Linked DNA regions of Homo sapiens: region 2 is linked to region 1. Evidence: promoter capture Hi-C in human tissues and cell types (Jung and others, 2019). All regions are on one chromosome and are shown on one strand. Each heading gives the region's core, a stretch centred on a gene start or on the middle of the fragment in contact. The rest is flanking DNA. Distances are from core to core; before and after follow the strand shown.

Evidence for each region. Contacts are between HindIII fragments. The study calls those that stand out against the background at their distance.
Region 2: a contact is called between the fragment with the promoter of NBL1 here and a fragment that was not itself captured in region 1, in 1 of the 25 tissues and cell types used here (mesenchymal stem cells).

Annotation. Positions count from the first base shown.
Region 1 is chr1:19,198,313-19,203,903 of GRCh38, forward strand. UBR4 (ubiquitin protein ligase E3 component n-recognin 4) reads right to left here. Exons shown (of 106, transcript NM_020765.3): 2 at 3,406-3,503; 3 at 1,339-1,442; 4 at 487-616; 5 at 229-368. Among named protein-coding and RNA genes, the nearest start is that of UBR4, 9.2 kb to the right of the region's middle. RefSeq lists an enhancer at 4,025-4,526. The HindIII fragment of the contact is 5,188 bases long and covers 188-5,375 here.
Region 2 is chr1:19,640,021-19,645,611 of GRCh38, forward strand. It overlaps NBL1 (NBL1, DAN family BMP antagonist), which reads left to right and starts at 4,291. Exons shown (of 4, transcript NM_005380.8): 1 at 4,291-4,426. All of the region lies in intron 1 of MICOS10-NBL1 (MICOS10-NBL1 readthrough), which reads left to right. RefSeq lists an enhancer at 3,303-4,138 and a silencer at 4,037-4,376. The HindIII fragment of the contact is 7,978 bases long and covers 1-5,270 here.

The sequences.
Region 1 (5,591 bases), core at 1,532-4,031:
TGCATTGAGAGAAGCCTAGAATGGTCGTCAAAACAGTAATAACCGTGGACAGAAGAAGGAGTTGGGGTGAATTTTACTTGTTTTATTTTGTATTCCTCAATTTCTTTTGTCCCACAGACATGTATATCATTTTATATCACAAACATAAAATACATCACTTTTTCTCCCCTAGTGTTATCATCTTAACAAAACCCACAGAGAAGAAGACATTTGACTAAAGAAACTCACCAGAGTCTGTGTACTGATAGGTTGTGATGCTACAGTTCTAGGGTTAAAAACTGAGGTCAGCTGGTTCAAAAAATTCATCTGTACCTCCTTTTGCCTCAACTCAGGGCTTACTGGTGAGGCCAGCTCTTTCTGATCTTCCACTGTAAAATACAAAGGCAAAAAAAAGGGCTGAGGAAAGTGCCACTAGAAGGCAAAGGTGCCATGGAAAAGGTGCCATGGGGGTGGTCATGTGATCAGATCTGTCAAAGGAACACCCACCGTCTGAAAGTGTCTTCACTGTTTGGGGCAGCTTGGCGGATTTCATCATTGCTGTAAATGTGATAATTTCAGTTCTATCTAGTCGGCTACAGCCAGTGCACAGGCCCTTGATTAGGAGAATCAAGTGTTTCTGAAAAGAAAACAAATGCAAACAAAAGAAAACAAAAACAAATAGATCTTTCAGAAAATTCTACTCTTTTGGAAATTCTAACTGGCACAGGGCCAAATTTAGGTTCATATAAACACTAAAGCAAAGACTGCAAGCTGATGTCCTTAGACCGTATGTAGCTTATAGATTTGTCTTATTGTTCTCACAATATTTTTTTAAAATTTGAAGGGAATGAAAAGATTCACATGCAAATCTGAAATTCTCACGCTCAAATAATTCACAGTATAGCAACCTTGCACCTCCATTCCTGCATGGCAGTAATAACCCAGAGCCAAATAGTGGTTAGCCCCTTTAGTTGGGACCTGCAATCTTCTCAACTAGCACACTTTACTCATTTTCTGTTACCTACCTGGCCCCTGCAGGTATGTAAGTTTGCAATCCTTGAGAAGACTCTGTAGCCCCATGTACCAGAGGTTGGCAAACTACAGCTCCAATTCAAACACTGCCTGTTTTTGTAAATAAAGTTTACTGGAACACAGCCATGTTCATCATTTATATATTAATCTATGGCTGCTTTCACACTAAAAAGGCATAGTTAACTAGCTGCAACAGATAACATACAGCCTGCAAATGATTTCCTATCTGGCCTATTACAGAAAAAGTTCACTGACCTCTACTCTATTCCACTAGTCAGTCACAACACTGCTTCAGAATAGGGCAAGAAATGGGCCCATCACTCTCACCTGGGACACAGCACAAGCCTCATCTGGATTCTCCAGACGCAGGAGAGAAAACTCAATTAGAACTTTACAGGCTGCTGCCACTGACTGAAGTTGGTTCCGGGGAACTGAGAAAGTAATAAACATTACTCAATTTCAGACTGCTCAGCGTTGGTCAATAAATTAAGCAAAGTAAGTATTGAGCTCTATGTCCAACATTCCCAATATCGTAACAATTATTCAGAGCCAAAAACCCAAGGGGTAAACAAAGGCATTTTGACATCAATAACTACCAGATCAATTTATCTCATATTTACTAGAAATCAGGATAACTATAATAGGAAATACTTACATCACACCAGTGCCAAGCACTTCAAAGGTATTAACTCATTTAATTCTTAAACCAATTCTATGAGGCAGATATTCATATTATCCCTGTCCATTTTTAACAGCTGAGCTAACTAAATGACTTGACAAAAGTCACATAGCTAGGTTTAAATCCAGGCAGTCAGCCTCTAGAGTTCATGCTCTTAACCACTAAACCAGGAGTGTGCAATCTTTTGGCTTCCCTGGGCTACACTGGAAGAATTGTCTTAGGTCACACAAAAAATACACTAACAGTAACAATAGCTGATGAGCTTTAAAAAAAAAAAGGCAAAAAAAAAAATCTCATAATGTTTTAAGAAAGTTTATGAATTTGTGTTGGGCCAAATTCAAAGCCATCACATGGTCCTCAGGCTGTGGGTTGGACAAGCTTGCACTAGACAATACTACTATTGTAGTAGTATTCCCATGGATTCTAAAATGACGTCCTGGTCAGGCATAGTGGCTCACACCTATAATCCCAGCACTTCGGGAGGCTGAGGTGGGTGGATCACTTCGGGAGGCTGAGGCGGGTGGATCACTTCAGCCCAGGAGTTTGAGACCAGCTTGGGCCAGCATGGTCAAACCCCATCTCTACCAAAAATACAAAAATTAGTCTCATAACCCGATCTCAAAATAAATAAATAAATGGATAAAAATTTTAAGTATAACTTAAAAAAATAAAATGACTTCCTTACATAAAGTTTCTCCAAGCTAAAACTGATTCTTCTGCCAGTAGCCAGAGCTTATAATAAACAGTATTGGACACTGAAGGATTCCTCAGCAACTGGAAGAACTGTCTTGGGCCACACAAAAAATACACTAATTCTTCAATGTCCTTTCAGTTTACTTGCTTAGCAAACTGTTCAAATAAACAAATATGGGGACTCCTGCCTGTAATCCCAGCACTTTGGGAGGCTAAGCTGGGAGGACTGCTTGAGCCCAGGACTTCCAGACCAGCCTGGGCAACATAGAGAGACCCTGTCACTATAAAATATTAATTGGGCTTGGTGGCTTGTGCCTGTAGTCCCAGCTAGGACTGAGGAGGCTAAGGCAGGAGAATCACTAGAGCCCAGGAGTTCAAGGATGCAGTGAGCTATGATCACGCCACTGCACTCCAGCCTGGATGACAGAGCAAGACCCTGTCTCTAAAAAAGCAAATTTAAAATAATTAGAATTCTTCAGAACTATTTGAGTCAAGATTTTAGACAAATGTAAAAATTCAGAAATGTAAAATAGGGATTAGCCATTTTGGGGGTAGAAAAATGAAGAAAATGGAGAACTGAAGTTGAAATCCCTTCATATACCAGAGAACACAAAGGAGAATCCACATCCTCACCAAAACCAAATAAGGAATAGAGCCTTGAGTGGCTGCTAACTCCAGAGGTCAGTATCCACCACCGCCTTCCCCCCAGGGAAATTAACACACCAGTAATTACATGAGAAATCAATAAAATGCTTTGGATTAAGAAGGGAAAGGAGGTGGACTTAATACTTATAAAGCAGGTGTCCAAGCCAAGTAGTTTTAAAATTCCACTTGGTTAGCCTAGGTAAGGGAACCTCTGGAGCCTCATCCTAGCTGACAGTTGTCTCTACTCTTGGGTGAGCAGCTTAGGAGTGCTAAAACCTAGACTTCATTAACAACTTTTTCAGATACACTAACGAGAGGATAAACAATCCCCCTATTCACAAGCCCTCAGAAGGGAAGGACAAGAGTGGAATACTTACTGAGACTGCAAACTGTTGTAATATAGTGTGTGGAAAGTGCAACAAAAGATGAGTAGAATGGCTCGTACTGCTTCTCATGGTGCAGGATTTCTGATTCACTGTAAAAATAATAATAATTCAGCCAGCATCTGCTTAGCGCTTACTATGTGCCAGATACCCCTTTATGGATATTACATTATTTAATCCTTACTACCTGGTAGATAGTATCATCAACCTATTCCCCTTCAAGACTGGGAAAGATGAGACAGGTGGATCACCTGAGGTCAGGAGTTCAAGACCAGCTTGGCCAGTATGGTGAAAACCCGTCACCACTAAAAATACAAAAATCAGCTGGGCGTGGTGGCACGTGCCTATAGTCTCAGCTCCTCAGGAGGCTGAGGCAGGAGAATTGCTTGAACCTGGGAGGCAGAGGTTGCAGTGAGCCGATATTGAACCACTGCACTCCAGCCTGGGTGATAGAGCAAGACTTCATCTCAAAAAAAGATTGGGAAGGTGAAGCTTAGAGAATTAAAATTAAATATCTCATTCAAGGTCATCAGGCTAGGGAAGAAGCAGAGACTAACAAACAGAAAACATTTTCAAAGTCAAGCAGAACTAACGAAATGCAAGTAAAGACCTAACAGGATATCAATCTGTTCTATATTACTGACTGGCAAAGACCAACAGCTAATATGCCTTCATTATTGATAGCCAAAAAGGGGCAGACCAGAATACTCAATATACTGTTAGTGGGAATACAGACTAAAGTAACCAATTTTAGACCAAATAAGGCTGGCCTGTAATGCAGTAACTTAAAAGGAATCAACAACTCAAGATAAGAAGTCATATGATCAGTGCTAAAGTCCAAAATTCACTGGATAACAGAGTTATCCCCTACACCATCCCCCTGACTGTAGACTAAAGCGAGATCACAAAAGAGTCGGTGATTTTTTTTTTTAACCACATCCCTTATCCTTAGCTGGGGAAATGCCCTCTTCTGAAAAAATCTAGAGACCAACTAGGTTTAAAGGCTGGATACATTTAAAGTCATTGTATCAAATCAGGTGCTAATCCACAATTGATGAAACATGGGCCGGGCACGGTGGCTGGCCGGGTGTGGTGGCTCATGCCTGCAATTCCAGCACTTTGGGAGGTCCACGCAGGTGGATGACGAGATCAGGAGTTCAAGACCAGCCTGGCCAAGATGGTGAAACCCTGTCTCTACTAAAATTACAAAAATTAGCAGGTGGTGGCACGCGCCTGTAATCCCAGCTACTCAGAAGGCTGAGGTAGAGAATTGCTTGAACCCAGAAGGTAGAGGCTGCAGTGAGCCGAGATCGGGCCACTGCACTCCAGCCTGGGTGACAGCGAGACTCCGTCTCAGAGAAAAAAAAAAAGAAAGAAACATGAAGGTAAAGCAAAGACTAAAATATATTTTATTAAATGGAAAGAACAACAGTGTGGTTGAACAGTTTACTTAGTGAGTCAATCCCCAGCAGAAGTATCAACCTATGGTGGGACGCATTGTAGCTGGTGGCTCAAGCCTGTAATCCCAGCAGTTTGGGAGACAGAGGCTGGTGGATTATCTGAGGCCAGGAGTTCGAGACCAGCCTGGCCAATATGGTGAAACCCCGTCTCTAATAAAAATACAAAAATTAGCCAGGTGTGGTGGCACCCACCTGTAGTCCCAGCTACTCACGAGGCTGAGGCACGAGAATTGCTTGAACCCGGCAGGTGGAATTGCAGTGAGCTGAGATTGTGCCACTGCACTCCAGCCTGGGCAAAAGAGTAAGACTCCAACTCAAAAAAAAAAAAAAAGTATCATCCTAAGAAGGGAAATGTAAACAGAGTGAACACTCCATTCACTGCCTGCAAGACTATCTGCCTGCCAAATGAACACAGGAGCCAAAAGGACAAGTCACTATTTGGAAGGTGCCAATGTCGGTGATGAATCACCTTGAATAACACTTGAGAGTCTGGCATTGCGAGCACTTTGCTATATGCAGATCAAGGATAAATGGGTATGTATCAAAGATTAGTCCCTTAGAATAACTCCTTCACCAAGAAAAAAATATTTATGGAGCATCTATGATGTGTGCAAGGATCCTCCTGCCCACTAAGGGTCCTTTTCCATTTGTCAGGGTACATAAAAAGGAGAAAATAAAAACCTTTCCACAACAAGCAGCACTCAAAAGTTGCTGGTGACT
Region 2 (5,591 bases), core at 3,041-5,540, 440 kb after region 1:
GCCTCCTAAAGTGCTGGGATTGCAGGCGTGAGCCATCACGCCTGGCTCTTTTAAATAAATATTAAACAACTGAACCTGGAACCTTCAGAACACATTGGTTATGTGAGATCCACTCATCTGTTTATCTGTTGCACAATCTGCCTGGGTGTGGCAGAACATAAGCTCCTTGGAGGCTGGGACCTTATTGGTCTAGTCTGTTGTTGTGTCCTCAACACCTCTGTGCATGTCTGGCACATAACAGGCACAATAAGTATTTGTTGGATAAATGAATGACTCCAGACAACAAATCTATGGAGTACATAGCACTACTAACTGCATTTTACAGATAAGGAAACCAAGGCCCAGGTGTGAAACAACTAGCACAGAGTCAGAGGGCGATGCAGGAACAATGTAAACCCTGAGCCTCCCCTGATGAGTCCGAATGGCTCCTCCCAGCTCCATACCTGGAGGTGTGAACGCTCTCATCTTTATCATAAAAAGAGAGGGACTGTGTACCAACCCTCTGTTCAGTGGGCTGGACTGGGAAGACAGGCCTTTTGCTTGTTTTCATTCTATTTCTCCAGCGAGAGTGCAGAGGTTTGGACCCCCGTTGAGGCCAGACTGACAGGATTAGAGGAAACAGCTGGGCTGAGTCCGTGCCCTGCAGGAGGGAGCTCACATTCCCGGACTCTGGGAGAGAGCAGCTCCCCACAGCTCAGTCACATTCCAGGTCGGTCATTTTCCTGAGCCCAGATGTTTGCTAATGAGCTGGGGAGAGGGGCTTTTAGCCCTGAGCCCCAGCTCTGGGCCCCACATTACCTCGGCCCCAAGAGGCTGGCCCAGGGCCAGGAGGCTCTGGCCTCAGGCCCATGCCCTGTGCCAGCCAGGCCTGTAGGGGCAGCTGGAACACCACTGCCAACCAGGTGCATCTGCTCGAGCTGGGACACTCTGACGTGACAGGTTCTGCCTTTCCCGCTGGGGCCCCTGGGGTCCATCTTCAGTGCAGCATCCCTGCTGCAGCCTGATGGGGAGGAGCACTGAGGCAGCCGAGAGGGTGGAGAGGGTGTGGTGGGCAAGGAAGCATGGACTTTGGTGTTGACAGGTCTGGGCTCAAGTCCAGGCTTTGTTAATCACTAGCAATGTGGTCTTGAGCAGGTAATGACACATTTTGGTGCCTCGATTTTTCTTACCTGTAAAATGGGAACAATGATGGGACTGTGGTAAGGATTAGAGGAGATGAAGCAGACAGAGTGACCAGCATAATGCCTGGCACAAAATGGGTAGATATTACTACCAAGTTACTTCCCAGGCCCCCTGCCCACACTGTAGCTTTCCCGTCACCAGACAGATGGTGACTCAACTCCAAACCCTTTGTCCCTGATTAGGGGGTTGGTGTTGTTCTTGAACCTCCCGGTGTTTGAGAGATGGTGGGCTGCCCTGTCAAGGGCACTGGCTGGAAGTTGTGGCTTCTACTCCTGGCTCTATGTGTGATCTGACCAGCTCATCAGGCTCCACAATTAGCTTTCTGCAATGTGGGAGTGGATTCTTACAAAATGTAGAACTCTACTTTCTACCCTGCTCGGGGTCTGCATGAAAGATGGCGGGGGTAAGCTTTGGCTGCAAAATGGTAAATATTTCCTGAGTGTCTACTGTGTACAGTGCAGTGAGGCTGGTTTCTGCCGTACATGGTATATAGTTATCCAACAGACACTAGCTGGCATGGGCTCTTACTGTGTGACTTTAGGCGAGTTACTTAACCTTTCTCTTGACGTTCCTTTTTTCACTTTTTTTTTTTTTTTTTGAGACAAGGCCTTGCTGGAGTGACAAGCTCATTAGGTTCCACAATTAGCCTTCTGCAATGTTGTCCAGGCTGGAGTACAGTGGCACAATCATAGCTCACTGCAGCCTCAAACTCCTGGGATCAAGTGATCCTCCAGCCTCGGGATTTTTTTCACTTTTATTATTTTATTTGTTTGTTTGTTTATTTATTTATTTATTTGAGATGGAGTCTCACTCTGCCTCCCAGGCTGGAGTGCAGTGGTGCGATCTCGGCTCACTGCAACCTCCGCCTCTCAGGTTCAAGTGATTCTCCTGCCTCAGCCTCCCGAGTAGCTGGGACTACAGGCACACGCCACCACACCTGGCTGATTTTTGTATTTTTAGTAGAGAGAGGGTTTCGCCATATTGGCCAGGCTGGTCTCGAACTCCTGACCTCAAGTGATCCTCCTGCCTTGGCCTCCCAAAGTGCTGGGATTACAAGCATGAGCCACTGCGCCTGGCACTTTTAAAACAGAGACAATACTTACCTCATAGGTTTATTGTGAGAGTGGCAACAGCTTGCAATGGGATGAGGCACATGGTAAGGTGCTCAATATGTGTGAACTATTATAACGGTCATAGTTACCATTAAGGGAAGACCTATCTGTGCTACATTAATGGGGGATAATAATTACTTTATTCGCTGGGCGTGGTGGTTCATGCCTATAATCCCAACACTTTGGGAGGCTGAGGCGGGAGGATCACTTGAGGCCAGGAGTTGGAGACCAGCCTGGGCAACATGGCAAAACCCCATCTCTACTAAAAATACAAAAACTAGCTGGGCGTGGTGGTGGGCGTCTGTAATCCCAGCTACTCGGGAGGCTGAGAATTGCTGGAACCTGGGAGGCAGAGGTTGCAGTGAGCCGAGATCACGCCATTGCATTTCAGCCAGGGCAACAAGAGCAAAATTCTGTCTCTAATAATAATAATAATAACAACAACAACAACAACAACAACAACTTCATTCAACCAAATACATTGTACATCTCACCTGGCCTGCCCATAAGCAATGGAGACACTGAAATAAACACGATTCCTGCCCTCAAGGTCTAATGGAGGAAAGAGATGTACACAGCTATTCTAGAGGGAAATTGACATGAACAGAAGTTCTCATCCTGTGCTCCAGGATCACACTGGAGGAGGGAGATGCTCCCAGAGGGTCTTGGGAAGGCTTTCCAATCTGGAGCTGGAAGAATGTTTGCCCAAGAGATGTACACAGTTATTCTAGAGGGAAATTGACATGAACAGAAGTTCTCATCCTGTGCTCCAGGATCACACTGGAGGAGGGAGATGCTCCCAAAGGGTCTTGGGAAGGCTTTCCAATCTGGAGCTGGAAGAATGTTTGCCAGAGATGAAAGGAGGGGAAGGGAATTCCGGGCAGAGGGAAGGGCGCAGGCAACAGCTAGGAGGCGCAGATGCAGGCTGGGTGTGGAGGGTGCGAGTAGGCTGGAGTACACCAGGGAGTTCCCAGCAGGCCACTAGGAGCCACCCAGGATGCCCGGCAACCTCATGAGTCAGACAAGCAGGGCTGTGTCTATCTGGAAGTTTCCAGCCAAGCTAGGTAAAACACATGGACACAGGTAACTATGCTGTAAAGCAAAATCCCCAAGTCCTACAATCGTGTCCCAGTGGTGTCCCTGGGCCACCACTTTCCAGAAGCAAAGTTATTTTCTCACCCCGTTGTTAAGCACACAGAATAGAGAAGGTACGGCCGCAATCCACCCAAGTGCCCACTGATTAGATAGGAACCCCCGAGGTGAGGCTGGAAGCTGGGGCCAGGAGCTCCACTCTTCCCAGGAGTCAGAGAAGTGAGTTCATTTGCTGGCTTTTTAGTTCCTAATAAGTCCCTGGGGCTTTTCGGGATGCTTAAGCCAAGGGCGTGGGGCCGAGAGCGACACTAGGATAACACTAGGCAAGGCTGAGCAACCCAGGCTACCAACAGCACGGACTTGAACCGGGTCGCATGCCGGAGCGGACGGGATGAGGTGCACCGCAGAACTGGGGACTCCTGGTGCCGGGACGCGGCGGGCTGGGGCGCCCCACTCTCGGGGCAAGTCTGCAATGCCCGGTGCCCACAAAAAGGACACATCCATCTTTGTCACCCCGAGGCCTGGCACGGCCTGACGGCCCAGGCTCGGTAAAAGTCGGGCGGAGAGAGTGGAAGCGCAGAGAAACCCGGGGAGGGCGCTTAAGAACGGGCCAGGGCGCCCGGCTGGGCTGCCCTGCCTCTCGGGCGCCGGCCAGGCGTCCCGGCCGCCCCACCACGCCGTCGGAGCGCGCCGAAGCTCAGCCCGGGGCGGGCGGGCCAGGAGAGGGCCCGGGGCCCCTGCCGCCGCGGCGCCCCCTCCTGCGCACCCGGAGGGAGAGGCCGCGCGCGCCCGCCCGCTCTTTCTGCGCGCGGCCCTCCCCGCTGCCCCCGCCCTCGCGCCCTGTTTGGAGGGAGCCACCCTGACGTCGGAGCCGCTCCCCCGCGCCGCGCGCCCGCCCGGGGCCGCAGACAGCGCGCAGCGCAGCCCAGCCGAGCGTCGCGGGGCCGCCCCCCGCCCTGCCGGCCGCCTCGCCGAGCCTCCTGGGGCGCCCGGGCCCGCGACCCCCGCACCCAGCTCCGCAGGACCGGCGGGCGCGCGCGGTAAGTCCCGCCCGGGTCGGCACGCGGGCGCCCGGCTTCCAGAGGCTTCGGCCGCGGGGGCAGTGCCGCGCCCCCAGCCCGGAGCTGCGTCCCCCGGCGCGTCCGGCGGCCGCGGGCACCGGGTGGAGGCGCCGCCGCCGAGCTCAGGAGCCCTGGGGGACCTGGCGGGCGCCTCCGGACGCCGGCGCTGGGGACGTGGGCGCGGCACGGGGTGGCCGGGGGGCACCGCCGCGTCCGGAGCCCGTCCCCAGACTCGCCCCAGGGTTCCGTTTCTGGATCGGAGTTTCCGCGGCCGGGGGAGAGAGGGAGCGAGGGAGGGAGATGCGTGGCCGGGCGGGCCGGGCTCGCATGTCCCCCGGCCGTGCCCGGGCCTCGCCGCGCCGCGCCTCTCGGCTCTGGACGTTTCCGCCTCCCGCGGCCCCCTCTGCTTCGGTCCCCACGTCCGTGTGTCTGTCTCTCCGTCGCTCCGTTTCCGCCGCTCACTTTCCCCTGGTCTGCCCGTCTCTTTCCGTTCCCCGCCTGCCTCCGTGTTCGGCTGCCCGCGTTTGTGTCTCTGCCTCTGGCTTTTCTCTCCCTCTCTCTGTCTCTGCGCTGCCCTCTGTGGGGGTCTCGCCCTGTGTCTGCGCCTCTCCCTGATCCCCCGCCCTCCGATCCAGACAATCCCCCAGTGTCGGAGGCTCGCCTTCCCCCAGCGGGGTTCACGAATAGTTTCCTAGACCGGGTGCGGCAAACCCTCCCCCTGCCTCCCGCCGGCCCCGAGGCCTGGCCCGGGTCATCTCCCTGGAATTGAGTCTGGGGCAGGGAGAGCCAGCCTTTCCGGGGGCTCAGTTTTCTTAAGAATTCCACCCCCGCGAGGCCGGCTGGACGACAGGCCCTGCTGCGGGCCACCTGCCCGGCCCGCTCCCAGGGCGGGGCGATTCTGATCGTTTACAAGCGGCGGCAAAGGGGGCAGCCGCCTGCCTTGGCGTGGCCGGAGGTTGGCGGGCATCAAGGGAGAAAGCCACACTTCCAGGCTTTCGGAGGCCCTCGCTCCCCAAGCTGGACGCCACCAGCCTGTAACTAGGGGCACCCCAGGAAAACAGAGGTCAGGGCTGGAGGCCAAAGACCGGGCGCTGGCGGGGAAGCAATTTGTCAACAAGGAGCCCCTCACCCTTTGTTACTGCGG